7 separate regions of the Homo sapiens genome follow, and regions 2, 3, 4, 5, 6 and 7 are each linked to region 1. The links are contacts of gene promoters, found by promoter capture Hi-C in blood cells and fetal thymus (Javierre and others, 2016). All regions are on one chromosome and are shown on one strand. Each heading gives the region's core, a stretch centred on a gene start or on the middle of the fragment in contact. The rest is flanking DNA. Distances are from core to core; before and after follow the strand shown. Region 1 holds the start of GLB1L2 (galactosidase beta 1 like 2). Region 2 overlaps IGSF9B (immunoglobulin superfamily member 9B). Region 3 overlaps IGSF9B (immunoglobulin superfamily member 9B). Region 4 has its middle 21 kb from the start of IGSF9B. Region 5 has its middle 59 kb from the start of LINC02706. Region 6 overlaps LINC02730 (long intergenic non-protein coding RNA 2730). Region 7 overlaps LINC02731 (long intergenic non-protein coding RNA 2731).

Region 1 (3,186 bases), core at 1-2,500:
AAATCCGTCCTTCTCCCAAACAATATCATGACGTCCCCACTATCTCAGAAACAAGAATCCAGTCTTGACAAGGTGTAAACATAGAGTTTGTCAGTGTGTTCTTCTGGCCACAAAGGACTTCCAGATATTTATCTCCATCAAAAACTTCCCTGTCTCCCAGGGGAAGTGCAGAGAAACTAAGAACTTAGTTTCTCTAAGTAAAAAAGAAGCAAATGACAAAGCCGAGCGGCGTAGGGCCTGCCACCACTTCCAACCGTTCAGTTCATTCGATACTGCCGGTCGGCTTCCCACTGGAGGTTTTGAATATGGAAAGTGCTGACCTGAAAGATAGGGTCAGGGCTGTAGAATCCTTAAAATAAGCACAGTTTAGAAAAATGCTGGGCTAGGGCACCCAGAAAACTTTTTCACAGGCTGTGGGTAAATCACAGTATCACTGAAGCCACTCCTTTGCCATAAACAACATTTGGAAAAGGGGGAGAGGAAAGGGTGAGCTGGTAACAGGTGAATGGTGGGAAAGTGGAGAGAGACGACCTATCAGTCCTACTGTGCAAATAAATCATGGCCCGGGATCTTGGAGGCCCACGGACACTGTTCTTACGACCCTGCCAGGCCAGCTGGCTAGACCATACCTGCCAGGCTGAAGCGCCGGCCTCTGCGGAATAAGGCGCCTCCCAGAGGCTTGGGAGGAAAAGGGGGGCCTGGGGGAAGGGCAGAGGGAGCTCTCCGCGGAGCAGTGGGGACGGGGCCGCGATGGGGTGCGTCTGAGAGGGCTCTGACGGCTGGAGGGCTGCGGGCGTCCACGGGGGGCAGAGCCCGGCGTCACAGGCGCGGCGGGGTGGGCGGCTCGGGGCACAGACGCCGGCTCCCGAGGGCACGCCGGGTGTCGCCCAGAGGCCTGGATCGCGCGGCAGGAGTAGAGTGCCTGCAGCCGCAGGGGAACTCGGGGGTATTGGGGAGCTCCCAGAAAGAAGCAGCTGGGGCTGCTCCCCCCGGGAACTCGGGATTCGCGGGTCGCGGGAGGAGAGAACCCGAGGTGCGGAGGGCTGGGGAATGTGGGGTCCGGCAGGTGCTGCGCGAAGCTCTCTCTCACCTGCGGAGCACCAGGAAGCCCAAGACGACCAGCAGCAGGAGTCCCAGCGTGCGGGCCGGCCTCCGCCGGAGGCTCCACGTGGTCATCGCGTGTTCTCTAAGCGCGGGGACCCGGGTTCCCACTCCAGTCCGCACTCAGCCGCGCGCGGGAGCCTCGCCGCGGGGGGCGGAGCCGCGCACTGGTCGCCTGGGCAACCGGCCCGCCGGCGCTCATTGGCTGGGGCTCGCGGCTCCGCGCCTGCAGCCCTAGGCCTCGCGCAAGCGGGGGCGGGGCTGGCCGGGGCCGGGGCGGGGCCTCTGTCGGGGGGGGGGCGGGGCGGGGCTGGTGGGCGGGGACGAGGTCTCGGTAGGAGAGGGGGCTGGCGGGGGCGGGGCTGGCGGGGCGGGGCCCCGGCCGGGGGCGGGGCGGGGACAAGGTCTCGGTAGGGGACGGGTCTGGCCGGGGCGGGTCCCCAGTGTCGTGGAGCGGTGCAGAGTCCGCCGTCTTTCTGCTCGCGAGGCGCAGGCGGGTGCGGGAATGCTGCGTACCTGTCAAACGCCGAGGTAAAGTCGCCCCTCGCAGCGCTACATCAGGAAGAACGTACAAAAGGCGTCCGCAAAGCAGGGGCAACCAACAGAATCTTTTAAAACAATTCAGATTCTGAAGCAAACAACTTTTTCAATAACAAATCATCCTGTGAAAAGCCAGGATTTTGAAGAATTGTATCTGGACACATTTCAGTGTGGTTCATGTCTGAGGAGGGGGGGTTCCAAATATTTTCTGTCTTTGGTTTCTGCGAGTCTTACTCTGGCCTTGACTCCAAGGGCTTCCAATTTTTTATTTTAAAAAGGTCCATATAAAACTCTCACATTTTAGGAAAGGAAGAATATCATTCTTATTCTGAAACAGAATGTATGTCCCAAAGAACATGATGTAGTATTTCGGTGCAACTTACACTGTAGCAATCACAAACCCAACTCCTCCCGGGAACAAAATTCAGATTTTACTGAAAGAAACTCGAGGAAGGGCAACGTTTTCCAGAGCATCCGGGTTTGTCGAATGTCTCCCTTGCCGCATGCTTTGAATTCATTTCCTAAACGGGGGCATAGTTTTGAACTTGTAAAGCCGACAGGAACCAAATGAAATTGCAGATCTTGGAACAAAGACACAGACTTGGGTATGAAGTGTCCTTTGTCTAGCGTTAAGCACATATTTAGTCAAGGAGCAAAAGTTAAATCAAAGAGAGGCAAAAACAAACGAACAAACAAGAGGAAAAAAACCCTGGCAGAACTGGGGAGGATAAGCTGGGCTTGGAGCAATCCGGGTCTGACTTAAGCACCGCAAACATTCCCAGAGGCGCGCAGAGGGAGGCCCACTCCCGTGGACGCGCTCCAAGCCCGCTCCTTTTCTCCATTGGGTAAGGCTATGATTGCTTGATGGCTATGAAGTCTGTGATGGAAACATGTTGGTTTAATTGGAATATACCAGCTAGCCCCGAAGCGTGTGGAGAAATTGTCAAAGGCTAGCCCCTTTGCCTGCAGGGGACCATCCGAAAGACATGCACCCCACATTCATCCTCTCACTTCTGGTCACGTTGAACAGTGGCAGAATCTATCAAATATAAGGGAATTCTCAAATGGTTTAAGCAATACAAGCATCTCCATTTTTCTTCAAACGTTAGCAAAAACTTAACATGGGTTGTGAAAACCGTGAACTCCTTGGCCCACCCTTGTATCCTTCGTTTTTATTTGTGCGAGAAAAATATACATAACTGAGTGTTTTCAAAAAAATTTCCCCTTAACCTTGTGGGATGTTCAGAACTAGGGACACACCCTGCTCACAGTCTAGGAACAATTTTACTTTATCTGGGCTTAATGATACCACAGAATGCTACAAAGTTAGCACTAACCCGAGATGCGTCTTGCTCATAGGCTGAGACTTTTTTTTTTTTTTTTGAGACAGAGTCTCACTCTGTTACCCAGGCTGGAGTGCAGTGGTGCAATCTCAGCTCACTGCAATGCCTCCCGGGATGCAAGCTATTCTCCTGCCTCAGTCTCCCGAATAGGTGGGACTGCAGGCACCCACCACCTTCCCCGGCTAATTTTTGTATTTTTAGT
Region 2 (3,186 bases), core at 230-2,729, 420 kb after region 1:
ATGAATGGTTTTAGGAGTGTTGTGGCAGTCTGTCAAGGAAGAATGCTGAACAGTTGCTTTGCAGAGCTTTGATAACTGTTGTAGAGTAACTCTCTTTATAGACAGGATTATGGGAGAGTGTTATATAGAAATTCAAAGCCCCATGAATCTCTGGGAGACGGTGATCACTTATGATCACTTAGCCTTTGGCTGGTACTAGTATACTTTCAGTTTACAGATGGAAATACTGAGGCAGAGAAAAAGAAAATGATGTTTTTAGGGCTTGGGTTAGAAACTGGAGCTCAAAGCTGCATTTTCAGCCAATTAAGCCCATTGTTAACCCATTTAAGACCCATCAATATATAGTTTTTATATATGTATAACATATATTTCTTTATTGCAAAAAAAAGTCACATCAGAGACCTGCATTGTCTCTTGTTCTGATGGCAGTGGTCCTGTTACCAGTTCTGTGGTGGCATCTTCCAAATGTCTGTCTTTAGCCCAGGTCCCTTCCCTGAGGTCATGGCTGATATTTCCAGTTGCCAGCTGAACGTGCACTTGGGTGTTTCATACGCCTTTACGATGTCTAAAGCAGAGTTATTGATCAGCCTCTCCAGGTCTGCTTCTCCTCAGCTCTTCCTCGGTTTAATCACTAGCACTGGTACCCACTGGGGTGTCAGGCCCCTTAATTCCCAGATTCTTCCCTTGCCTTCACATCTTACGTCGAGCCCGCTAGGTAATGCCTGTTAGCTCAGCCTTTGCAACATATCCTGAATCTGGCCACTTTCTGTTGTCTCTATTGCTAACTCTGTGTTCTGAGTCACTGTCTGTCCCACCTTGACTATTGCAGTACCTCGTGGCTGGTGTTCCAGCCCTATCCTTGTACCTTGCACCGTGGACTCCACACACAGCCACCACGGCGAACTGCAGGACACGTAGCGGCATCCTCTCTTTCAGTTACGAACACACACGTGCAGGCGTGTGTGCACATACACAAACACACACACACTTCTGATTAAAACCTCCCCATCGTAACCAGATTCCCATCGTAACCAGAACAGATTTCAAGCTCCTAGATGCCCTGCCTGTCTTTCTTGCCTCACTCTTTTCCAACTGAGATGACCTCCCTTCTGTATCGGGGACACACCACATTTACCCTTAACTTGGGGCTTGCACACATGCCATTTCTTCTGTTGGGAATAATTTTTCTTCAGATCTGTGGAAGGCTCATAATTTAAGATGCAATTCAAGTGTTAACCCTTTAAGGAGCGGAGTAGTGCCTCAGTTGACCCTATTTTATCTTTGTAGTATTTTCAGTAACTGCAAATTTTATTTCTGTGTTTTTAAAGTCTTGACAGTTTGTCTCTTCCTCTGCACCCTCACATGGATGCATAGTCTTTGAAGCTAGCAAAGGCATTCCTGATTAATCTCCAGAAGGGCCATGAGGCAGAGGAGAGGCCCAGGCAGTCCAGGAAGGGTCAAGGCCTGACCGTTGCATGCGATTAAAATCTTGTATAAAGTCGGTCATTGCTTGGGGCAGATGAGAAAGATGTCCTGAGTCCCAGCCTGTTCCTTCCTGATCCCCAGTCCCTAGAATGATGCCTAGTACTCAAGAGGCACTAAAAGAAATATTTGTAGACTGATCGAGAAAGAAATGAATGAGAAGGAAAATCCTCTCCATTCCACTTTCTTAACTCTTATTCAAGTGAAAGGAGCAGGGTCAGGTTGCTGGTTGTCTTGGCGGAAAAGAAGGTGGTTTCTCTGCAGCAATTCGGTCTGGTCTCTCTAGACTCAGGTGATTCCTTTGTTTCAACATTAGAAACCCGGAACAAATGCAGGTGGAAAAGGTGAGCAGGCTGCGTGCTTCCTTTTCATCCGCTTGCTTCTCTTTTGCGTCCCTCTTCCTTTCTTCCTAGACGATTCTGCCTCCCAGACTCAGCAGCTTCCCAACTCTCAGGTTCTGTGGCCCGATGAAGCTGTCTGCCTCCGAAAGAAGAAGAGACATTCTCGTCCTGACCCCTTTGCCCGGCTCTCAGACTTGTGCCACCGCCAGCTTCCGGAAGACCAGACAGCGATTCTCAACAGTGTGGACCACGATGACCCAGGACATGCCACTTTGCTGTGACTCCACCCCACTCTAGGTGTCCCCGGGGCGAGGTTGCTGGGCTCAGGCAGGGAGGGCCACTGTGTGGGGGTGTGTCCTCCTCCGTCTGCCAAGGGCGGCCCAGACCTTTGTCCTGCATGCCCCCTCTTTTGCCAGAGCGGGTGTCTCCCTCCAGATCCTGGCCGCCTGTCTTCAGGACGGAGGGTGGGCACACCTTCCACCTGTGGGTCGAGGTCAGGAAGTGGATTGGAGACTGGGCAACACCTGTCTCCTCCCCTCCGCCCCCTGCTTCACTAGGTTGATTTTTCTCATCTCTTCCAATGTCTTTGGAAGTGAAGAGGAAAGCAATGGCTTTTACTGCTCTCTGCTTCTGTTTCAGTTTTTCAAGTCCTGGAAGAAGGCTGGACTTAATGTCCATCTTCCACACCCCACATATATATAGATATAGATACAGATGCATATGTCTGTAGTGTGTGGGTTTCTCTATGTGTGTATATATATATATATATATGTACATTGAGGCAAAGTGCTGTTGCTCTCTGTGGTCAGTGGAGGCAGGAGGAGGAGGGCAGTGGCCAGCTGGGGTTTGCGAGCAGGGCTGGCTGCACGTTGGCCAGGTGCCTGACATCTGTCTTGGGGGATTCTTTCTCCCAAAACAAGATCCGTGTCTCTCAGCTGAATTCTCCGTGTGTCTCCTACCTTCTCCCACCCAGAGCAGAAATGGGGCCTTGCTGTGATTACCGGCTGCCTTCTATGGGGGTTCAGTAATGAGTTACTGCAGAACTAAATTCAAGCCTTTGTTTCTTGGTTCCTGGGTGAAGAAGGGGTGGCCAGGCTCCTAGACCTGCATCTTTCTTCCTTCCAGCGTGGCTCACGCTGCAGGAGTAGAGGCTAACTCAGCCGCGGGGCTAAAGCAAGCCTCTGGTGCACATGTCCAGCGCATCCGTCGGCGCCCTTCCGCCCAGCCAGGCCGTGAGCTCTGTGGCCAAAGTCTCCCCACTGCGGAGCCACCTGTGCTAGCGCCAAGCTGCCGGCTCTATTTATACCGTCCCCGGCTCAGCACTCTGTGCAGTGCTGTTCCACAGCGGCTGATTGGATCCTCC
Region 3 (3,186 bases), core at 407-2,906, 400 kb after region 1:
CAGAGGAGGCTCTTGGCACTTATACCTGTGTGCCTTACAACACTCTGGGGACCATGGGCCAGTCTGCCCCTGCGAGGCTTGTCCTGAAGGTGAGGTCCCAGGGCTGTGACGGCCTCCATGAGCTGGGCACCTGGATCCCCGGCCTCACGAGGGTGCCTGTGCTTTCCTCCCCAGGACCCCCCCTATTTCACGGTGCTACCAGGCTGGGAGTACAGGCAGGAGGCCGGCCGGGAGCTACTTATCCCCTGTGCTGCCGCAGGGGACCCCTTTCCTGTCATCACTTGGAGAAAGGTACCTGGGCCCTGGAGCCCTGGGTCTGCAGGGAGGTGTGAGGGCCCAGGGAGCCCTGGGGCTGCGGGGAGGTTTGAGGGCCCAGCGAGCCCCGGGGCTGAGGGGAGGTGTGAGGGCCCAGCGAGCAGTTCTATTCTGGACCTGCCCTGACCAGGCTAGATGCCGAGCAGTGAGCTGACCCTGAAGAGCGGCAGGCACTCGGGAGGAGGGCAGCGTGGGCGGGCCGGGGTCTCAGGCGCGTCCTCCCCATCTGCTTCGGGCTTCTCTCCTAACCCCCATTTCTGTTCCCACCCTCTTCCCTGCCCCTTGTTCACCAAGGTAGGGAAGCCCAGCAGAAGCAAGCACAGTGCCCTGCCCAGTGGGAGCCTGCAGTTCCGTGCCCTGAGTAAGGAGGACCACGGGGAGTGGGAATGTGTCGCCACCAACGTGGTCACGAGCATCACTGCCAGCACCCACCTCACCGTCATCGGTACGTGGCCGGCAAGGCTGGGCCGGGCGGCGGGGACAGAGCAGGCTGGCTGGGGGCGGGGTGCTGGACGCTGGGAGCGTCCCCTGGTGGCCGCTGCACTCTGCGGGCTCCCTTCCTAAGTCAGTGCAGCCCTGAACTCCGCGTCCAGCACCGGCAGCCTTTGCCCCCGTGGGCTCTGTCGGGGAAGGGCAGCGTGGCTCCTGTCCTCAGGGAGGTCTTTCTGGGGACAGGCCTGATGTCCACAGCAGCCCACCTGAGGGAAAGAGGCGGCTGTGTGGCTGGCAGGGACTGCAGAGCCTTGAGTTTAAGGGCCTTAGGGAGAGCTGGAGGGCTGGAATGAGGGAGACGGGGACTGTGCAGCATCTCAGATGAGGGCAGAGCTGAGACCTGCAGGCCAGGCCTGGCGTGCGGAGGCTGGGCAGGAGGAAGTTTCTGGGGTTCTGTGTCTGGGCGTTCCCGTTTCCGATTGCCCGAAGCGCGTGTCCCAGGACCTTCGCCTGGGCCCTCTCAGCCTGTCCTTCTGGGTCCTGACGGCTATAATCACAGTCACAGCCAATGCTTTTGGAGCCTTTACCACCAGTTTTAGGTTCTGTTCCAAGTGGTCTGCACAGCTCGTCCTTCACAACTCGGGAGGTGCGAGCTGGGGTTTCTCTAGTGTAGGTTCCTCGAAGCAGAGGTTGCCGTGGCCCGAATGCTTTCTCCGGCGTCACATCGCTAAGAAGTAGTGGGTCCGGGAATCGAAGCCAGGATGGGGCTCCTAACTGCTGTGCTGTGCTGCCCACATGCCAGCATTGGGGTGGGACGGAGTTGTCTTCTGAGGCCAGAGAACCTTACGGGAGGGGCTCTGTGGCTGTGCCTGCCGCCTTAGGAGAGAGTGTTTCTGTGCTCACCAGAGAAGCACAGGATTTGGGCCAGGACGAGGAGGGCTCTGGTTTCTGTTGGACCCATTCCTGATGCTATGTGATCTCCTAGTTGGACTAGACCGCACAGTGGGACAGGCTTCCTGCTCCAACCCCACTAACAAGCAGGGTCAGGGGAGTCGGCGCCTGAGAGCATCCCCGTCGCCCCCATCCCTTCACTTGCAGTATTGTGCTCCGCTGCCATGCGCTTCAGCCTCTCAGGTTCCCCACAGCCAGACGGTGGGCACCCAGCCACGTGGCTGAGTTCTTTTCAGTCTGAGAGGTCTCCACTTGATCTCCAGGCACCAGCCCCCATGCCCCGGGCAGTGTCCGGGTCCAGGTCTCCATGACAACTGCCAACGTGTCCTGGGAACCAGGCTATGATGGAGGCTACGAGCAGACATTCTCAGTTTGGTACGGACCTCTGTGAGTCACCCCGGCATGCTTTGCTCTCTGCTTCTCCCCTCCCCGGTCTTCCTGCAGGCTACCCCGGGTGGGGGGAGGTAGGAGGAGGCTGCAGTTCCTGGCCTGCCAGCCCTGCACAGACTGAGGTGGGTTGAGACAGTGATGAGGTCCTTGTGGGTGACGGGAGGGGTCTGAAGGGACTCTGGGCATGGCTGTGTCCCTGTGGCCTGAGGGGTCTGGGCCTCTCTGTGCCCTCTCCCTGCTCACGTGCTGCCTCGTTTTGCGTCCTGCTTCATCCTCTGGATTCCTCTGGAGCCTGGAAGAGACTCCTGCCCTTCAAGGGCTTTGTGAAATTGCCCAGCCTTAAGTGTAGAGTCTAGTTTTTAGACTAATTTTTTTTGTATTTTTGTATTTGTAATTTTTGTGGGTACATGGTACATACGTTTGTAGGTATGGGGTACGTGAGATATTTTGATATAGGCATGCAGTGTGTAATAATCGCATCAGGGTAAAGGGGTATCCACCCCTCAAACATTTGTCCTTTGTGTTCCAACAATCCAATTATACTCATAGTGGTTTAAGAATGTATGATACATTATTGTTGCTTGTAATCCTGTTGTGCTGGCAAACACCAGGTCTTACTGGTTCTTTCTCACTATGATTTGTACGTGTTCACCCTCCCCACCTCCTGTAGTCTAGTTTTTATTCTGTCTTTTCCCCAGAGGCCACAGAAACTGGTGTGGAGAGGTGATGCTCACTTCCCAGCCTTGGGGTCAGCCCCTGCATTTTCTCTCTAGGACCATGTGTTTCTCGATTGTTTTCATTCCTCTGTTGTCAGTTTAGCCAGATGCAGTCATATGAGGTCTTTGCGCAAACCTTAGGGTAGATACAGATCTCAAAAATGTGCCAAGCGGGGTGAGGGCAGGAGGCACAGGAAGGGAGGAGAAGGAAGCCTAGCTGACTCCTCCCACCCCCAAGGGCTGCCCCTCCCTACACTCCTGTTTGAGTAAGAGTGGCAGCCACCTGCCCTGCCCCGGGGGTGACAACCTTGAGCTGGGAGGGCGAGCCCCTCAGTGCCTTCTTTTAGACCTGTCTCACCTGCAGGTGTCTCTCTAGCCAGGC
Region 4 (3,186 bases), core at 223-2,722, 350 kb after region 1:
TGAATGAGGTGTGAGACCTCAGAAGAGAATGGCTTTCCTGGGTGTCTAAGAGACTGTATTGTAGACACAGGGACTCCCAAGACAGTCCTGATAGCTGTAGCATAACCTGGCTTTAAGGAATCATAGTGTGTGAGGTTTGAAGGTATTATAAATGGCCATCATAGACTTGGGGAGTAGAGGCTCTTTTCCCACAGTGAATTTTTTCCCAGATCCTTGGATGAGGTTGAGGTGGGGTAGAGAGGGGTCTTGGGTAACAATAATGACTTAGGGTCAATTTATTCAGATTTGAAGAAAATAAAGTATTATGACATTTCTTGTATTCTCGAGTTTATGAGCTAAGTTTTATCTTTCCAAGTTTGGAACATGAGTTCTCCTGGCCATGGCTACCCATTCCCTCTTCTCATCAGTAGTCATAAAGTTTGACTTACAGCCCCTCTACTAGAAGCTTCATTCATTCATCCATTAAACATTTCCTGAGCACCTGCTGTATTCTAGGAACTACATTATTGCTAGGGATATGTGTTAGTTATTTCTGTTGCAATGTGTATTATCTCAAAACTTAGCAGTTTAAAGCAACCATATCTATTTCTTACCTCTCATAGTGTGTATGGGTCAGGAATTCAGGAGTGGCTTGGCTGGGTGGTCCCGGCCTGGGGTCTCTCATGGGACTGTAATTGGATGTCCAGCCTGGGCTATCATCATCTGAAGGCTTGACTCAGGCTGCAGGCCCCTCTTCCTCACTCGCTGATGACAAAGGTCTAGGAGGCAAAACTAAAGCCCAGAAGAGAGGAAGGACCTGCTTCCAAGGAGGTTCACTCATGTGGCTGGCAGTTGATGCTGGCACTTGGCAAGAGTCCTCAGTGAGGACTCTCCCCAGGGCTGCTGATGTGTCCTCATGGCATAGCAATGACTTCTCTCCAAGTGAGTCATCCAGAAGACCAAGGCACAATGCCTCTGTGATAAAGCATGGAGGTTATACATCATCACTTCCATGTGATTCTATTGGTGAGTAACGTAAGTCAGCCCTAGGGAAGGGGACTGTATAAAAGCATGTGGACATCAGGAGGCCTGGAGCACTGGGAGCCACAGGATGCATGAATTATTTGTAGTGCTCATATCTTGCAAATAAATTGTTGTGGCTTGGGCTTAGCATATGCCCACATCATCTCCAGGTGACCAGTTCTCCTGCCTAAGAAGCCCTCTTGTTCCTCAGTATCATCACCATACCAGCCTCTGTTTTCTCATCATGGTACCCACTAATACTATTAAGTCCAGGACGTTATACCCAAGTCTGGGCATATTCTATGGCCTGCTCATATTGTGGGTGAGCATATACAAATGACCTCATGCCTTTGAAGGACTCCTAAAAAAATGAACAGGACTATAAGGGCAAAGTATAAATCACAGGTAAGGGGTTTGACTCCTGAAACAGACACAGATACATGGAGTGTCATCGTCCCCGAAGCTCTGTCAGCTCAGTGGCACGTCCCCTGATTCCTCGGTCCTGATGCGAGACACTACATTCATCTGTACTTCTTTCCTGCTAGACTCTGTTCCTGGGGTCAGGGAGTGAGTCTTCTCTCTCTGGGTCCTCTCTCTCTTTCTTCTAAAGCCAGTGCGCCACTGAGGACTCAGATCATACCCTGAAGTCACTGGTTTGAACTGTCCTCGCCAGACGGTCAAGGACCAAGACTTTTCACTGCAGCGGCCCAAGGCCTGACAGCGCACCTCTGTCAGGAGTGAAGTCCCGGGAGTTAGGAACTTCCCGTTCACTTGGCTGAAAACAGCACTTGCCACATAAAGACTTAAATGCTATTGAATGAACCGGTTCCCCAGGACCAAGTCAAGTTCACTCAGCACTTGGGAGAGTTCGCAGGTCCCAGAGAGCCATAGCCTGTCTCATTCTCCTGGACCCAAGAAAAACATCAGAACGACTTTCCTCTCTTCTGGGCTTTGTTTTGCCTCCTAGACCTTTGTTATCAGAGAGTGAGGAAGAGGGGCATCACAAAGATCTGTGGGTGCCAAACCCTGGCTTTAAACATTGTTAGCTTGGATGTGGACACAAGAAATGACTGCCTCTGAGTTTGTCTGTAGGCAAGGGGGCTGAACCCAGGGCTGGCCCTGAGGGTGGGTTGGGGGTGCAGATACAGGAGAGCCAGTGGTGCTGTGGGATCCAGGTGGGATCCTGTACAGCCTGGAGAGAGGAGTGGGGCGGAGTGCCTCGTTAGCCTGTGATTAATACATCATAATATAGTAATCAACAGGCAGAGCCATGTGAATGCAGCATTAGGCTGGAAATAACACCCACAAGAAACACCGTCTGAAGCCTCCCACGGCATCGCAGTTTGGCCTCTCATTCTGTGTTAGCTCAGGTGAGAGCCAGGGCCCCCCCGAGGGCCCTGGAAACACAGGCAGCTTCCTAACTGCTTCATGTGGGAAGCGCTGCTCAGCTGAGGGACCACACCCGGCCTGGGACGCCTGCTCCTGGGGTAAGCTTCGGGGCTTTCCTGACCCATTATTCCCTCCCTCAGCTCACGCCCAAGTGGAAAGAAACTGGATTTCCATGGACTGAGGGCAAGGGTGGTTTGGGGCCAAGGTGGTTTGGGGCCACCTTGCAGGTCTCATCCCTCTCCCTGGGGATTCTGTGCCTAGGACTGTCCTTCTTCCTACTGGTGGGCCGTCCTGACCTATGCATGCCTGGCTGGGGCCCTACACTTGCACAAGGAGGAAGTGCTTGTGCTTTCAATACTGCTTTGAGGTGGCTCCCCTCCCCTTTCTGCTCAAGTGGGTTTAGACCTGGAGACAAGAAAGAACAAAGGACACCTGCCTCTGGTCTTGGCCAGAGGAGATGTTTGTGTCCAGGCTCCCCTCCAGGACCATTGCAGAGTTTTCAGCACAAACTTTAAGAGTGTGCTTTGACCTGCCTTTGTCCTCCCCACCTCTATCTCTGCAGGAGAACCACAGGGCCAGGGAGGGGGACGGGAGCACCTGGCACAGCCCGGACTCAGGTGTGCAGGGACTGGAGTCCCTGGCCAAGCCTTGCCTTCCACTTTCACATAACTTACGCATAGGAACAGGACAGTACCTGATGTTCTAGGGCGTGTGCACCTCTGGAGGCACGGAATGGGCAGTTTGACCCTGCACAACCCCAGAATTCACAAGGCTTTTGCATTTCCAGTATGTGGC
Region 5 (3,186 bases), core at 502-3,001, 320 kb before region 1:
TACCCGCATCAAAGCCGCCAGCCTGACGTCACCGCCACATACATCCAGCAATACCCTGAGCCTCTGCCTACATATTTGTCCCTAGATTCATGGCAGTCTGTTAGCCATTGGGTCAAACCATACTGAAGACAACTTCACCCTCTGCGCACCATGGAGATTATGTCCACTTTTATCTGACATTTAAGATCTAGGTTCTGCCATGTCACTCCAGAACCTCACAATCCTCGTGGATATTGGAGAACGTGATACCATCCCTCACCATAAACGTGGCCTTCGGAGTTCCTCCCGCACCCGTCTTCTCAAACACACCAACGGCCTCTCACCACTGCCTGCCTTCTTGTCTTAGCGGAGGACGATTTTCCTGTCCCTTTGAGGAAACATGATCAGATGATGCACCCTCAGGCCTCACATAGCACAGCTTTGGTAACATGTCTAAATTCATGAGCCTTCTGAGCCCTTCCTCAACCCTATCCCAAGGAAGGCCTAACACCGCCTCATTCACTGTACACCACTGTCAAATCCAAGCTTCAGGGATCTTCCGAAACATCTTTTGGGATGCTGCCACAGCAACTTCCTACTGGTGCATGGTAGCCAGATCCTGTCATTTATGTGGCAGATAGGTTATTACCTCTCACCCTTCCTGCTTAGGAGATAAATACTGAGGAGGCATAGCTTCATTGTGACAGGCACTCAGATTCCATGTGGCTGTTATTTTCTTTTTGCAAGGCTTCAAAGGCCATGATAAATATCAGCCAATACCATATTTTTGTATCCATCATTGCACACGTATAAATTGAACACCATCACTATTCACATCCCAAAGCTTCAACTTCTAACTATCTCAGTACAAAAGCCTCAGAAACGGGGTGTGTGTGTGTGTGTGTGTGTGTGTGAGTGAGTGTGTGGTCATCAAGTTATTCATTTATTTACTCAATTAATATTTTTATTTCTTTTTAAAAATTTTTTATTTTTACTGATACATAATATTCTACCTAATTATGGGGTACATATGATATACACCAGGTGTTATCACCACCCTGCTTATTAACAGTAACTCGCTGTGGTTTCTAGTACCTTTGGATGAGTGCTTATCCAGCTGTAAAATCTCATTCCAATAATTTAATTTTGAGAGCCACTCCTGATAACCACTGTCAAGTTTAGGCATTTTAGATTCTGTGGCAAGAGATTATGTGGTATCGATGACTTTGACTTCTGGGAAGATGGAGCAGAAGTACTTTTCCTACAACTTTAGATACAACTAAAAACAGTTTCCTACTAAGTACAACTGAAATTCCTGCACAATATGTTTTTGAAAACATAAAAAGACACTGAAAGGTAGAAAGAGCAAGGCAGACCAATTGGGAGCTTGGGAGAACTCTAAGCATTGAGAAGCAATACCACAGTGAGTTCTCTGAGGTATGCTAATTTTTTAAATCTTATATATCCCAGATTTGGATGCAAAGAAGCCATCAACACCAATCAGCCAAGGAAAAGTCCCCAGCAGAACCCTGCTGTCTCTAGCCAAGTGACCAGGGACACGGACAGCACAGGAGGACTGAGCCTCTTTAGACAAGACCCACCCTACTCCAGCCAAACACCCTAGAAAAACCATGGCTCCACCTTACCCAGACCAGCAGAAGTTGAGTGGAAAACCTTGATTTCTGCCCTTGCAGTGCCGTGATGAAGCACCCAGACTTGTTCACACTCTCAAGGGTTGTGGGAAGGGAGATGGAGGAGGGAGCAGACACTATTATCACTGTTGGGCAGCCGTGTTGACGGAGAACACATCAGAGGCCGGCACTTCCACTTCTGCCTGTCGGTGACAAGGCCCTCCTTCTGCTCCACACTGAGCAGCATCAGAGGAGGCCTAGTGGAAAGCCAGGACTTTCACCAGCACCCAGAGAGAATAACCAGTTCACCCCCAGGGTATCAGTGGAGACGTGGGGAGACAGGACTCCCACTTCCACACAGCAATAACAGGGAGCACTCCCCAACCCGGGTGTCAATAGAGACCAAGTGGGGAGCCTGGGTTTCTGCCTCCACATGACAGCAATGAGCCAGTGAAAACAGAAGGCTTAAATAAGATTTAGAGTCTCATACCACACTATCCAAAGTATCCAGGTTCCAATTGAAAATAATCTGTCCAGTCAAGCAGGGCAGCTCATGCCTGTAATCCCACCACTTTGGGAGGCCAAGGCAGAAGAATCACTTGAGTCCAGGAGTTCAAGACCAGCCTGGGCAATTCGGCGAGATCCCATCTCTACAAAAAATAATTTAAAAAATTAACCAGGTGGTGGTGCACACCTACAGTCCCAGCTACCCAGGAGGCTGAGGCCGAAGAATCACTTGAACAAAGGAGGTCAAGGCTACAGTAAGCCATGTTCATTCCAGCCTGGGCAACAGAGTAAGATCCTGTCTCAGGAAAAAAAAAAAAAAAAAAAGAAGGAAGAAAATCACTTGTCATGCCAAGAAATAGGGAAATGTCAACTTGAATGAAAAAGACAATTGATTATATACTAACACTGAGATAACAAAGATGTTAGAATTATTTGACAAAGATTTTAATGGTCATGGTTAAAATGCTTTAATGAGTAATAATAAACATGCTTGAAACAAATAAAAACATAGAAAATCTCAGCAGAGAAATAGAAGATAATAAAAACTAAATGGAAAGCTTAGAACCAAAACAAAATGTAAATTTAAAAATTAAAATTGAAAAAACAAAAAATACAATAAAATAAATTTAAGAATTCAATTTATTGACTCAACATCCAAATGGAAAGGACAAAGGAAAGAATTCATAAATTTGAGATTTAACATTAGAAATTACTCAATCTGAACAATAAGAAAAAACAGACTGATAAAAATGAAAAGAGATTATGCAAAATATTACGGAACTAGACAAAATATCGAATATTTGTGTCACTAGAGTCCTGAAAAGAGATGAGAAAACGGTTGGTGCTGAAACACTGTTTTTTAAAAAATGGCTACAATTTTCCCAAATTTGTCAGAAGTCACACACCTGCAGTTTTAAGAAGCCAAGTTAATCCCAAATAGGATAAATTCAAAGATATCCATGCCAAGAAACATCAGAGTCAAATTTCTAAAAATTGAAGGCATCTTACTTACATAGGAAAAACAATCCTAATGACAATGTATTTCTCACCTGAAATCATGAAGGCAAGA
Region 6 (3,186 bases), core at 497-2,996, 310 kb after region 1:
CTCAGTGCCCTGGCACTGAGGCCCGGCTCGTGCCCCAAGAATCGGGAAAGTTCTTGGTAAACTGTGCCATATACTACAGCAATGCACTCAGTACCCTGGCACTGAGGCCCGGCTCGTGCCCCACGGGGCTGTGTGCCCTTCCCTTGGCTGGCAGCTCAGGGCAGGGAGCCCAGTGTGATACCCGCTGAGGAGGGAGATGGCATAATGCCCTTGGGTGCCCATGTGCCCGGGTCAGCAGCCAAGAGCAGGATGCTTAGGAATTCCACCGAGGCAGCTGGGCCCCGGCTTCATTGGCAGGGGCAGAAGGGAGGCAGGTGTGAGGGAGGCCAGAGCGGGGCTCGAGGAAAAGAGGCTGGGTGGGCCATGGAACACTTTCCAAGGGGTGTCACAGAGCCACGCCAAGTGTGTGTCACCCTTCTCTATGAGGATGTGTGATTAGTGGAAATGAGAACAAGCTTTATTAGTCACTGCTGAGGAGAAACACCACGAAGAATTATCCAACCTGCTAATGGAAGGGTGCACAGGCCTCTGTAGGCTGCTGGAAGGGAGGAGTTTCATGTCCTCTTTTCTTTTTGCCCCCAGAAGACTCATGTTGCTGAGAGCAGATGGTGAGGGGGAAGAGGGTGGGTCCTCATCCTTGAGTCATTTGCTGCCGGGGTACCTTTTTGGGGCTCTGGGAAGTACAGCAAGCATGTTGGACGGATAGGCAGCCTGTTTGCAGGGGGGCGAGGGTCGGCCCGAGGAGGCGCCGCTGGGAATGACTCGTGCCCAGTCAGAAGCTGTAATTGGAGGTGATTAATCTGTGGAGGACAGCGTGGGGAGTCAGCGCTGACTCAGGACCCAGGCGGGCCGCTCCCCTCTCCCACTTCACCTGCCTCAGGCGGCAGAGGGAGGCTGCTTGGAAAGGCTAATGATTCAGAGGCCCTTAAAACAGAAGGATGAGCAGCTGAGGCTCCAGATCAAAGATGTTTTAACCCTTTAATGGTCCAGTGGTAATGTGAAGAGGTTGAGGGTCTTCCCTCGGAGTCGGGGCCCTGGACACGCGAAGCACTTATTTTATTTATTTATTTTTTTGAGACGAAGACTCGCTCTGTAGCCCAGGCTGGAGTGCAGTGGTGCAATCTCGGTTCACTGCAACTTCTGCCTCCCAGGTTCAAGCAATTCTCATGCCTTAGCCTCCTGAGTAGCTAGGACTAGAGGCGTGCACCACCACGCCCAGCTAATTTTTGTATTTTTAGTAGAGACGGGATTTTGCCATGTTGGCCAGGCTGGTCTCGAACCCCTGACCTCAGGGACCCCCCTGCCTCGGCGTCCCAAAGTGCTGAGATTACAGGTGTGAGTAACTGCGCCCAGCCCCACTCAAAGCACTTCCGATGCACCCCATCAGAAGTGGGGGTCAGGAGCTCCTCCACTGCAAGATACTAAGCTAAGGCTTTCTAGTTAAGGGGACCTAGATTTCAGCCCCAAGTAGGCACTCCCCAGCTCTGGCAAGCGGCTCAACCTCTCCAAGTCTGTACAATGAGGACAAAACTACCTACTTCATGGGGACTCAAAGAGATAGTGTTTGTGAAATGTTAGCAGAGCCGGGACTAGACCTGGGATGGGAGCAACCAACGCCTCATCCTGGGAGAGGCCACACTGAGCATGTGTTTTAAAAGAGGCTGCATTCACATTTTTCACCTCTCTTCTATATTCCAAAGATAAGCAAGAAGACCTGGGTCAGAAGAGCCAGCGTGAGTCACGCACAGCTGTCACCAGGGACAGTAAGATGGGTGAAATGAAGATGCAAATCACCAAATATTATTTTACCTATACACACACACACACACACACACACACACACACACACACACACACACACATACAGGTAGTCTAAAATTGTACACAATATACACAGTAAATATTTAATTAAAGAGGCTGTTTTCCTATTGGTAACTGACCTTACACCTTGGGGGAAGGTGCCCAGGTACACATACCTTGAAAACGCCCAATGGCTTTTGAGGAGACCTTGGTGGCAGTACTTTGTTTTGAGTGCAGGATCTTAGCAGAAGTCAGGACGCAGTGGACTTTTAGGGGAGCTGAGTCTGGAATAGTAAAGATGCTCCGGTCCAGCTGCTTTTGTGTGGTCAATCTGAGGGAGGGGGGGGTGGACTGTGTCATGGGGTTGGGGCTAGATCTTGGATGGGTTCATCCAACCCAACACCATGCATGTGCCTTAAAAGAAGTTCTAATTCTTTTTCAACTTTTGTGTACCTCAAAGGAGAAGTAAGAACACTTGACCAGTAAGAAGAGTGAGGATTAGATTTTGCACAGTTGCCAGAATGCAAAATCGAGATGATGGATATGAAATGCAAATGGGCAAAGTTAGGCATGTTCCTTCTTTATCCTCAAGGACGCTGAGCCAGAGCCGCAGCGCGCTCCCAGACAGAGCACAGCTCCCAGGTTCCCCAGCTCCTGTGAGGACCCACAGCTGGGGTGGCCCACACAGAGATTGGGATTCTGCCAACCTCACCCAGAGATGCTCCCTCTCCATTCTCGTGTTCTTGTTTGTTTTCTCCTGCCTGGTACCGTGCCTAACCACATGACCCTTCCAGGGACTCTTGCCGCAAGCTGGCCTATTCACCAGGTGCAAACAATTTATGCAGCACTTCCTACCCGTTCTCCAGTGTTTGTGGTGAAATTGGGAAATGCAAAGGTTATTTTTCTCAGGAGCATCCTGCAGCAGGTCTGGGATTCAGGCCTGTCAAAATTCTCCCCTGCAGATACATCTGGAACATTCCATTAGCAGCAGGAACTCTGACAATCAGGATGGTTTAACTCTCAGAGTGGGGAGCCAGGTAACCAAGACCTTTACCCTGGAGATCATTAGAAATAAAACTGCAATTTTCACATCTCCCTAGAGGTATGTTCCTCCCTGGTGGGAGGGGCTGAAGGCCTATAAGCACCCATCTCAGCCCCAAGAAGCCCAGTTCTTCCAATGTCCTTCAGCCTCTACCAGCTGCAGAACAATAAACAAACTCTGTCCTGTGAAGCTTCCTGCACAGTTAGCATTTGTGGGCTGCAGCCTCTTGCCATTTGATGTGTGGACAACAAAAATCAGCATATAGATTGAGCTGCCGCTATACGGAGGGCAAAACGAAAACGGAGAAGACAGTGTTTCGTTTTTTATTTATTTTTCTTTTTTGA
Region 7 (3,186 bases), core at 237-2,736, 290 kb after region 1:
TCCTTCCAGGACGTGACGCTGAGCCCACTGGACACCAGGAACCACAGGGCCTCCCGGCAGGCAAGGGAGACCGAGGGCCCCTCCTCTGGGCTGACGCAGACTCTCAGCAGAAGACATGGCTTAAGGAGCAACACATGGCTGGGTTTTGGCCGCCTTGGCTGGGGCCTCTGAGCCATGCCTAAACTGCAGACTTGAGGGATGATGCAGCTCAGAGCTTGCTTTGGTGTCTGGAGTAACGAAGGCTCGTGTTCTCTCTCACGCAGGCTTCTAAGAGTGTGTGCATGCAGGCACGTGCTGCTGTGCGTGAGTGCACAGCATGTGTGCTGTGTGGAAAGAGAGGCTGTGGGTGCCCTTTCCCAGGCGTGCCGCATCACTGAGGCACTGGTCATAGGCAGCATTTGCGCATTTCTGCTCTTGACACTGGGTTGCATACACAGTCCTGTCACACAGAGTCAAGGTCCAGGAACCCACCAGCGTTCTAGAGCCTTGAAGAGTGCTGTCCGCTCCCTGCCTGCCCCACGTTGCACCTAGGCAGACGGCAGTCCGAGCTCCGCTCCCCGCCTGCCCCACACTGCACCTAGGCAGATGGCAATCCGAGCTCGCTCTCCTTTCTCCCTCTCTCCCGGCTAGAGGAACGGAGCTCACACAGCATTGACCCCTGCCTGGCCTCTCTAAGCAGTTGCCAGACCCCCTGTAGCTGGATGACCACTGGACTGGGGAGGCGGTCTCGGCCAATGGTGGTGGGCAGGTGGGATCAGCTGAATGAGTCCCAGGAGAAGCCAAGTGCAGAAGCTGGCACTTCGTGTTTCCTATTGCCAACCAGCAGAGAAAGGCCTTCTTGAGAAGAAGTCATAATTTTTGGAAGAGTGGCTGAACAGAGAAGAAACAAGGCACAGGGGCTGGGGCCATTCCCCAAGATAGGCCCAGACTGTGCCTGTGGCCATGTGCCTCATGAGAGTGTGCCCACCTGGGTCGTGTGAGGCAGGGGCTGGGGTGGGGAGGCAGTTATACTTGTGAAGTATGCATAGTGGGTAGCTGTACACCAACCCACGTGAAGAGAGTGTAGGCCGGAGTTTCCAGGGACGTTTCTGGCCTCACTCCTGCTTGCACGTATGCATGGTACGCGTGTGTACATGCCAGAATAAGAGCATGTGCACCCTGTCTGTGTCAGTGTGTCCCTGCTGTACACACATACACCCCACGTGCCTTCATCTCTGCACCTTCAGGGGTACCCACCTCTGGGCCCAAGCTCTAAATTAGCAGACACACACACACGGCATTCATGGTCTCCAGACTCCTCTACATTTGAAAACAGACAAGGGGAAAAAAAGGGCCAAGAGACAAGACGAGCTAAAAATAGCCGAATATAAGCTCTTCAGATCAGAAAGCTCGGTGTTTTAGTGAGTCACCAGTTTTCCAGACTGAGCATGCACGCACGCACACACACATGCAAACACAAACACCGACATCCCGCCAAGTCACGCCCGCATTGCCGAAGATGCCCTGGGTCCCACACACCCTGTGCTCTGTTCTCACAAGGTAAAATCACCCTCCAAAAGTGGTGATTCTCTGGTCTCTGCTGAATGCTCTCTTGTTGAGCTTGGAAGGCACGAACTATTCCCCAGCTCCCTGCAAACACCTATGCACTTTCATCTCCGCCTTCTCAGCCTCTTCTGATTTGTCTGTGTTTCCTAACCCCAGCCCCACTCCACTTTGTAATGGTTGGCAGAAGACAATGGTCTTTCTGTCCTACTAAGGGTTATGCTGCACTTTTCAGGGGGCCCTGACGCTGGAGAGGTCAGACAGCTCTCTGCACAGCATCTCTGGAGCTGGCCTTTGTGCTTAGGGAGAGGAGACAGCTCCGGACGCCATGCAAGATTTATGAATGTGTTTTGTTAATTGCATTAGTGGCTCTGTGGGAGGATGGTGTGTGCTTTGGCCTTAAACAAGGTGAGCTCAAAAGCGGCAATGGGAGAGGGGACAGGACCAAGGCTGTGTGTATGAGCACCCTGCCATCCTGGGCTGCATGGACCCCCTTGCCCTCTGTTCCCCACGCTCTTGCTGAAGCCAGGGCTCTGTCCCTGCCCTCCTGAGCTCTTGTCTACGTTGCTGCTCAGGCCGGCCTTCCCCTCCTTGGCTCCTTGGGTTGAGAGAGGCCAGACTTGCAGTCATCTTCGATAACTCTATTTCTCTTTTTCTTTCTCTCTTCCTCTTTCTCCCTCATTCTTATCTTTCCTCTTTCTCTTTCCCTTTAAATCCTTCCCTCCGTCTTCACCCACCTTCACCTCTGTCTTTGTGAAATCTAAATCTGCTTTACTCTAAGCGTTTCAATAATTCAGGCTCCACAGTCCCTCAGGTGCCCCCAGCCCTGCTCCTATACTCCCGTGGTTTCCCAACAGATCTGCCTGCTGCGGCTGTGCTCCGCTGGCCTCTGGGGCTCCCGCTCCCTGGGAGTCAGCTGGGCATCATGTTCCTGCACCTTTTCAGAAGATGACAAAGTGCAGGCTTGCAAGGGTGAATGTGGCTGCTAGAGAGGATTCACCTAAAATTCGAAGCCAATCCGAGGGAGGAGCTCAACGAGCCCTGGGTCTAGGCCCATGCAGTGTGTCCGAAGTTCTGATGAGCTCTTCCGGAAGGTGGGCCCTAGGCCACGATGCCCATCTCACTTGGGGTTGCCCTCCTGCATGGCAACCCTGGCATCTTACTTCCTCTTCCTCAGCCCCTTTGTGCCCTGTCTGGGCTGGGCCTCGACCACGGACATGGTTGGGGGCATGGGCTCTGCACCGAGGCTGCTCCAGGTAGAGTCCAGCTCACACTCTCTGGCTACGGGAGTTCATGCCTCTGCGCCTTCATCTCTTCAACTGTCAAAGGGAATAATAATACCTACGTCATGGGGTCCTTTGACATCTACAGAGCTTAAAACAGTGTCTGACAAGCACTTCATAAACGTTAGGTATTGGTACGTGACCCAAGTCAGCCTGCCCAACCTTTCTCTGTCTCCTTTTCCCCTCAGAAACACAGGGATGAGAAACTCTATTTCCTTCCTAAGGGAGTTTCTGGGGGATCAGAGCTGAGAGGCAGGCCCCAGCCCTACCTTCCCTGCCCCGTCTCACCTACTCTTTGCCCATGGGGGCACTTGTCTCTGGCCCCACCTTCTGTCCCCCCAACTGCCTGTGAGTCCTCTTC

The links. The method cuts DNA at HindIII sites, captures the fragments that hold promoters and counts their contacts. A CHiCAGO score of 5 or more calls a contact.
Region 2: a contact is called between a fragment that was not itself captured here and the fragment with the promoter of GLB1L2 in region 1, in 4 of 17 cell types (activated CD4 T cells, total CD4 T cells, naive CD8 T cells and 1 more). The highest score is 7.5, in activated CD4 T cells.
Region 3: a fragment that was not itself captured here is called in contact with the fragment with the promoter of GLB1L2 in region 1 in 2 of 17 cell types (total CD4 T cells and activated CD4 T cells); the score reaches 7.3 in total CD4 T cells.
Region 4: a contact is called between a fragment that was not itself captured here and the fragment with the promoter of GLB1L2 in region 1, in 4 of 17 cell types (total CD4 T cells, non-activated CD4 T cells, activated CD4 T cells and 1 more). The highest score is 7.2, in total CD4 T cells.
Region 5: a fragment that was not itself captured here is called in contact with the fragment with the promoter of GLB1L2 in region 1 in 1 of 17 cell types (total CD8 T cells); the score reaches 5.6 in total CD8 T cells.
Region 6: a contact is called between a fragment that was not itself captured here and the fragment with the promoter of GLB1L2 in region 1, in 2 of 17 cell types (activated CD4 T cells and total CD8 T cells). The highest score is 8.3, in activated CD4 T cells.
Region 7: a fragment that was not itself captured here is called in contact with the fragment with the promoter of GLB1L2 in region 1 in 6 of 17 cell types (activated CD4 T cells, fetal thymus, naive CD8 T cells and 3 more); the score reaches 9.6 in activated CD4 T cells.

Annotation. Positions count from the first base shown.
Region 1 is chr11:134,330,052-134,333,237 of GRCh38, reverse strand. It overlaps GLB1L2 (galactosidase beta 1 like 2), which reads right to left and starts at 1,250. Exons shown (of 19, transcript NM_001370461.1): 1 at 1,091-1,250. The coding sequence starts at 1,176. RefSeq lists a silencer at 1,101-1,400. The HindIII fragment of the contact is 5,891 bases long and covers 1-3,186 here.
Region 2 is chr11:133,907,987-133,911,172 of GRCh38, reverse strand. It overlaps IGSF9B (immunoglobulin superfamily member 9B), which reads left to right. Exons shown (of 20, transcript NM_001277285.4): 20 at 1,896-3,186. The coding sequence ends at 2,104. Among named protein-coding and RNA genes, the nearest start is that of MIR4697, 11 kb to the right of the region's middle. The HindIII fragment of the contact is 4,099 bases long and covers 1-3,186 here.
Region 3 is chr11:133,928,558-133,931,743 of GRCh38, reverse strand. IGSF9B (immunoglobulin superfamily member 9B) reads left to right here. Exons shown (of 20, transcript NM_001277285.4): 9 at 1-89; 10 at 175-291; 11 at 610-760; 12 at 1,962-2,073. Among named protein-coding and RNA genes, the nearest start is that of IGSF9B, 27 kb to the left of the region's middle. RefSeq lists enhancers at 636-930, 716-1,010, 578-1,250. The HindIII fragment of the contact is 8,847 bases long and covers 1-3,186 here.
Region 4 is chr11:133,976,750-133,979,935 of GRCh38, reverse strand. No RefSeq gene overlaps it. Among named protein-coding and RNA genes, the nearest start is that of IGSF9B, 21 kb to the right of the region's middle. The HindIII fragment of the contact is 2,049 bases long and covers 448-2,496 here.
Region 5 is chr11:134,651,514-134,654,699 of GRCh38, reverse strand. No RefSeq gene overlaps it. Among named protein-coding and RNA genes, the nearest start is that of LINC02706, 59 kb to the left of the region's middle. The HindIII fragment of the contact is 1,851 bases long and covers 826-2,676 here.
Region 6 is chr11:134,022,239-134,025,424 of GRCh38, reverse strand. The region is part of intron 1 of LINC02730 (long intergenic non-protein coding RNA 2730); the gene reads right to left. Among named protein-coding and RNA genes, the nearest start is that of LINC02731, 8.4 kb to the left of the region's middle. RefSeq lists an enhancer at 487-1,289. The HindIII fragment of the contact is 2,577 bases long and covers 458-3,034 here.
Region 7 is chr11:134,039,437-134,042,622 of GRCh38, reverse strand. It overlaps LINC02731 (long intergenic non-protein coding RNA 2731), which reads right to left. Exons shown (of 3, transcript NR_027276.1): 3 at 1,282-2,861. Among named protein-coding and RNA genes, the nearest start is that of LINC02731, 8.8 kb to the right of the region's middle. The HindIII fragment of the contact is 9,450 bases long and covers 1-3,186 here.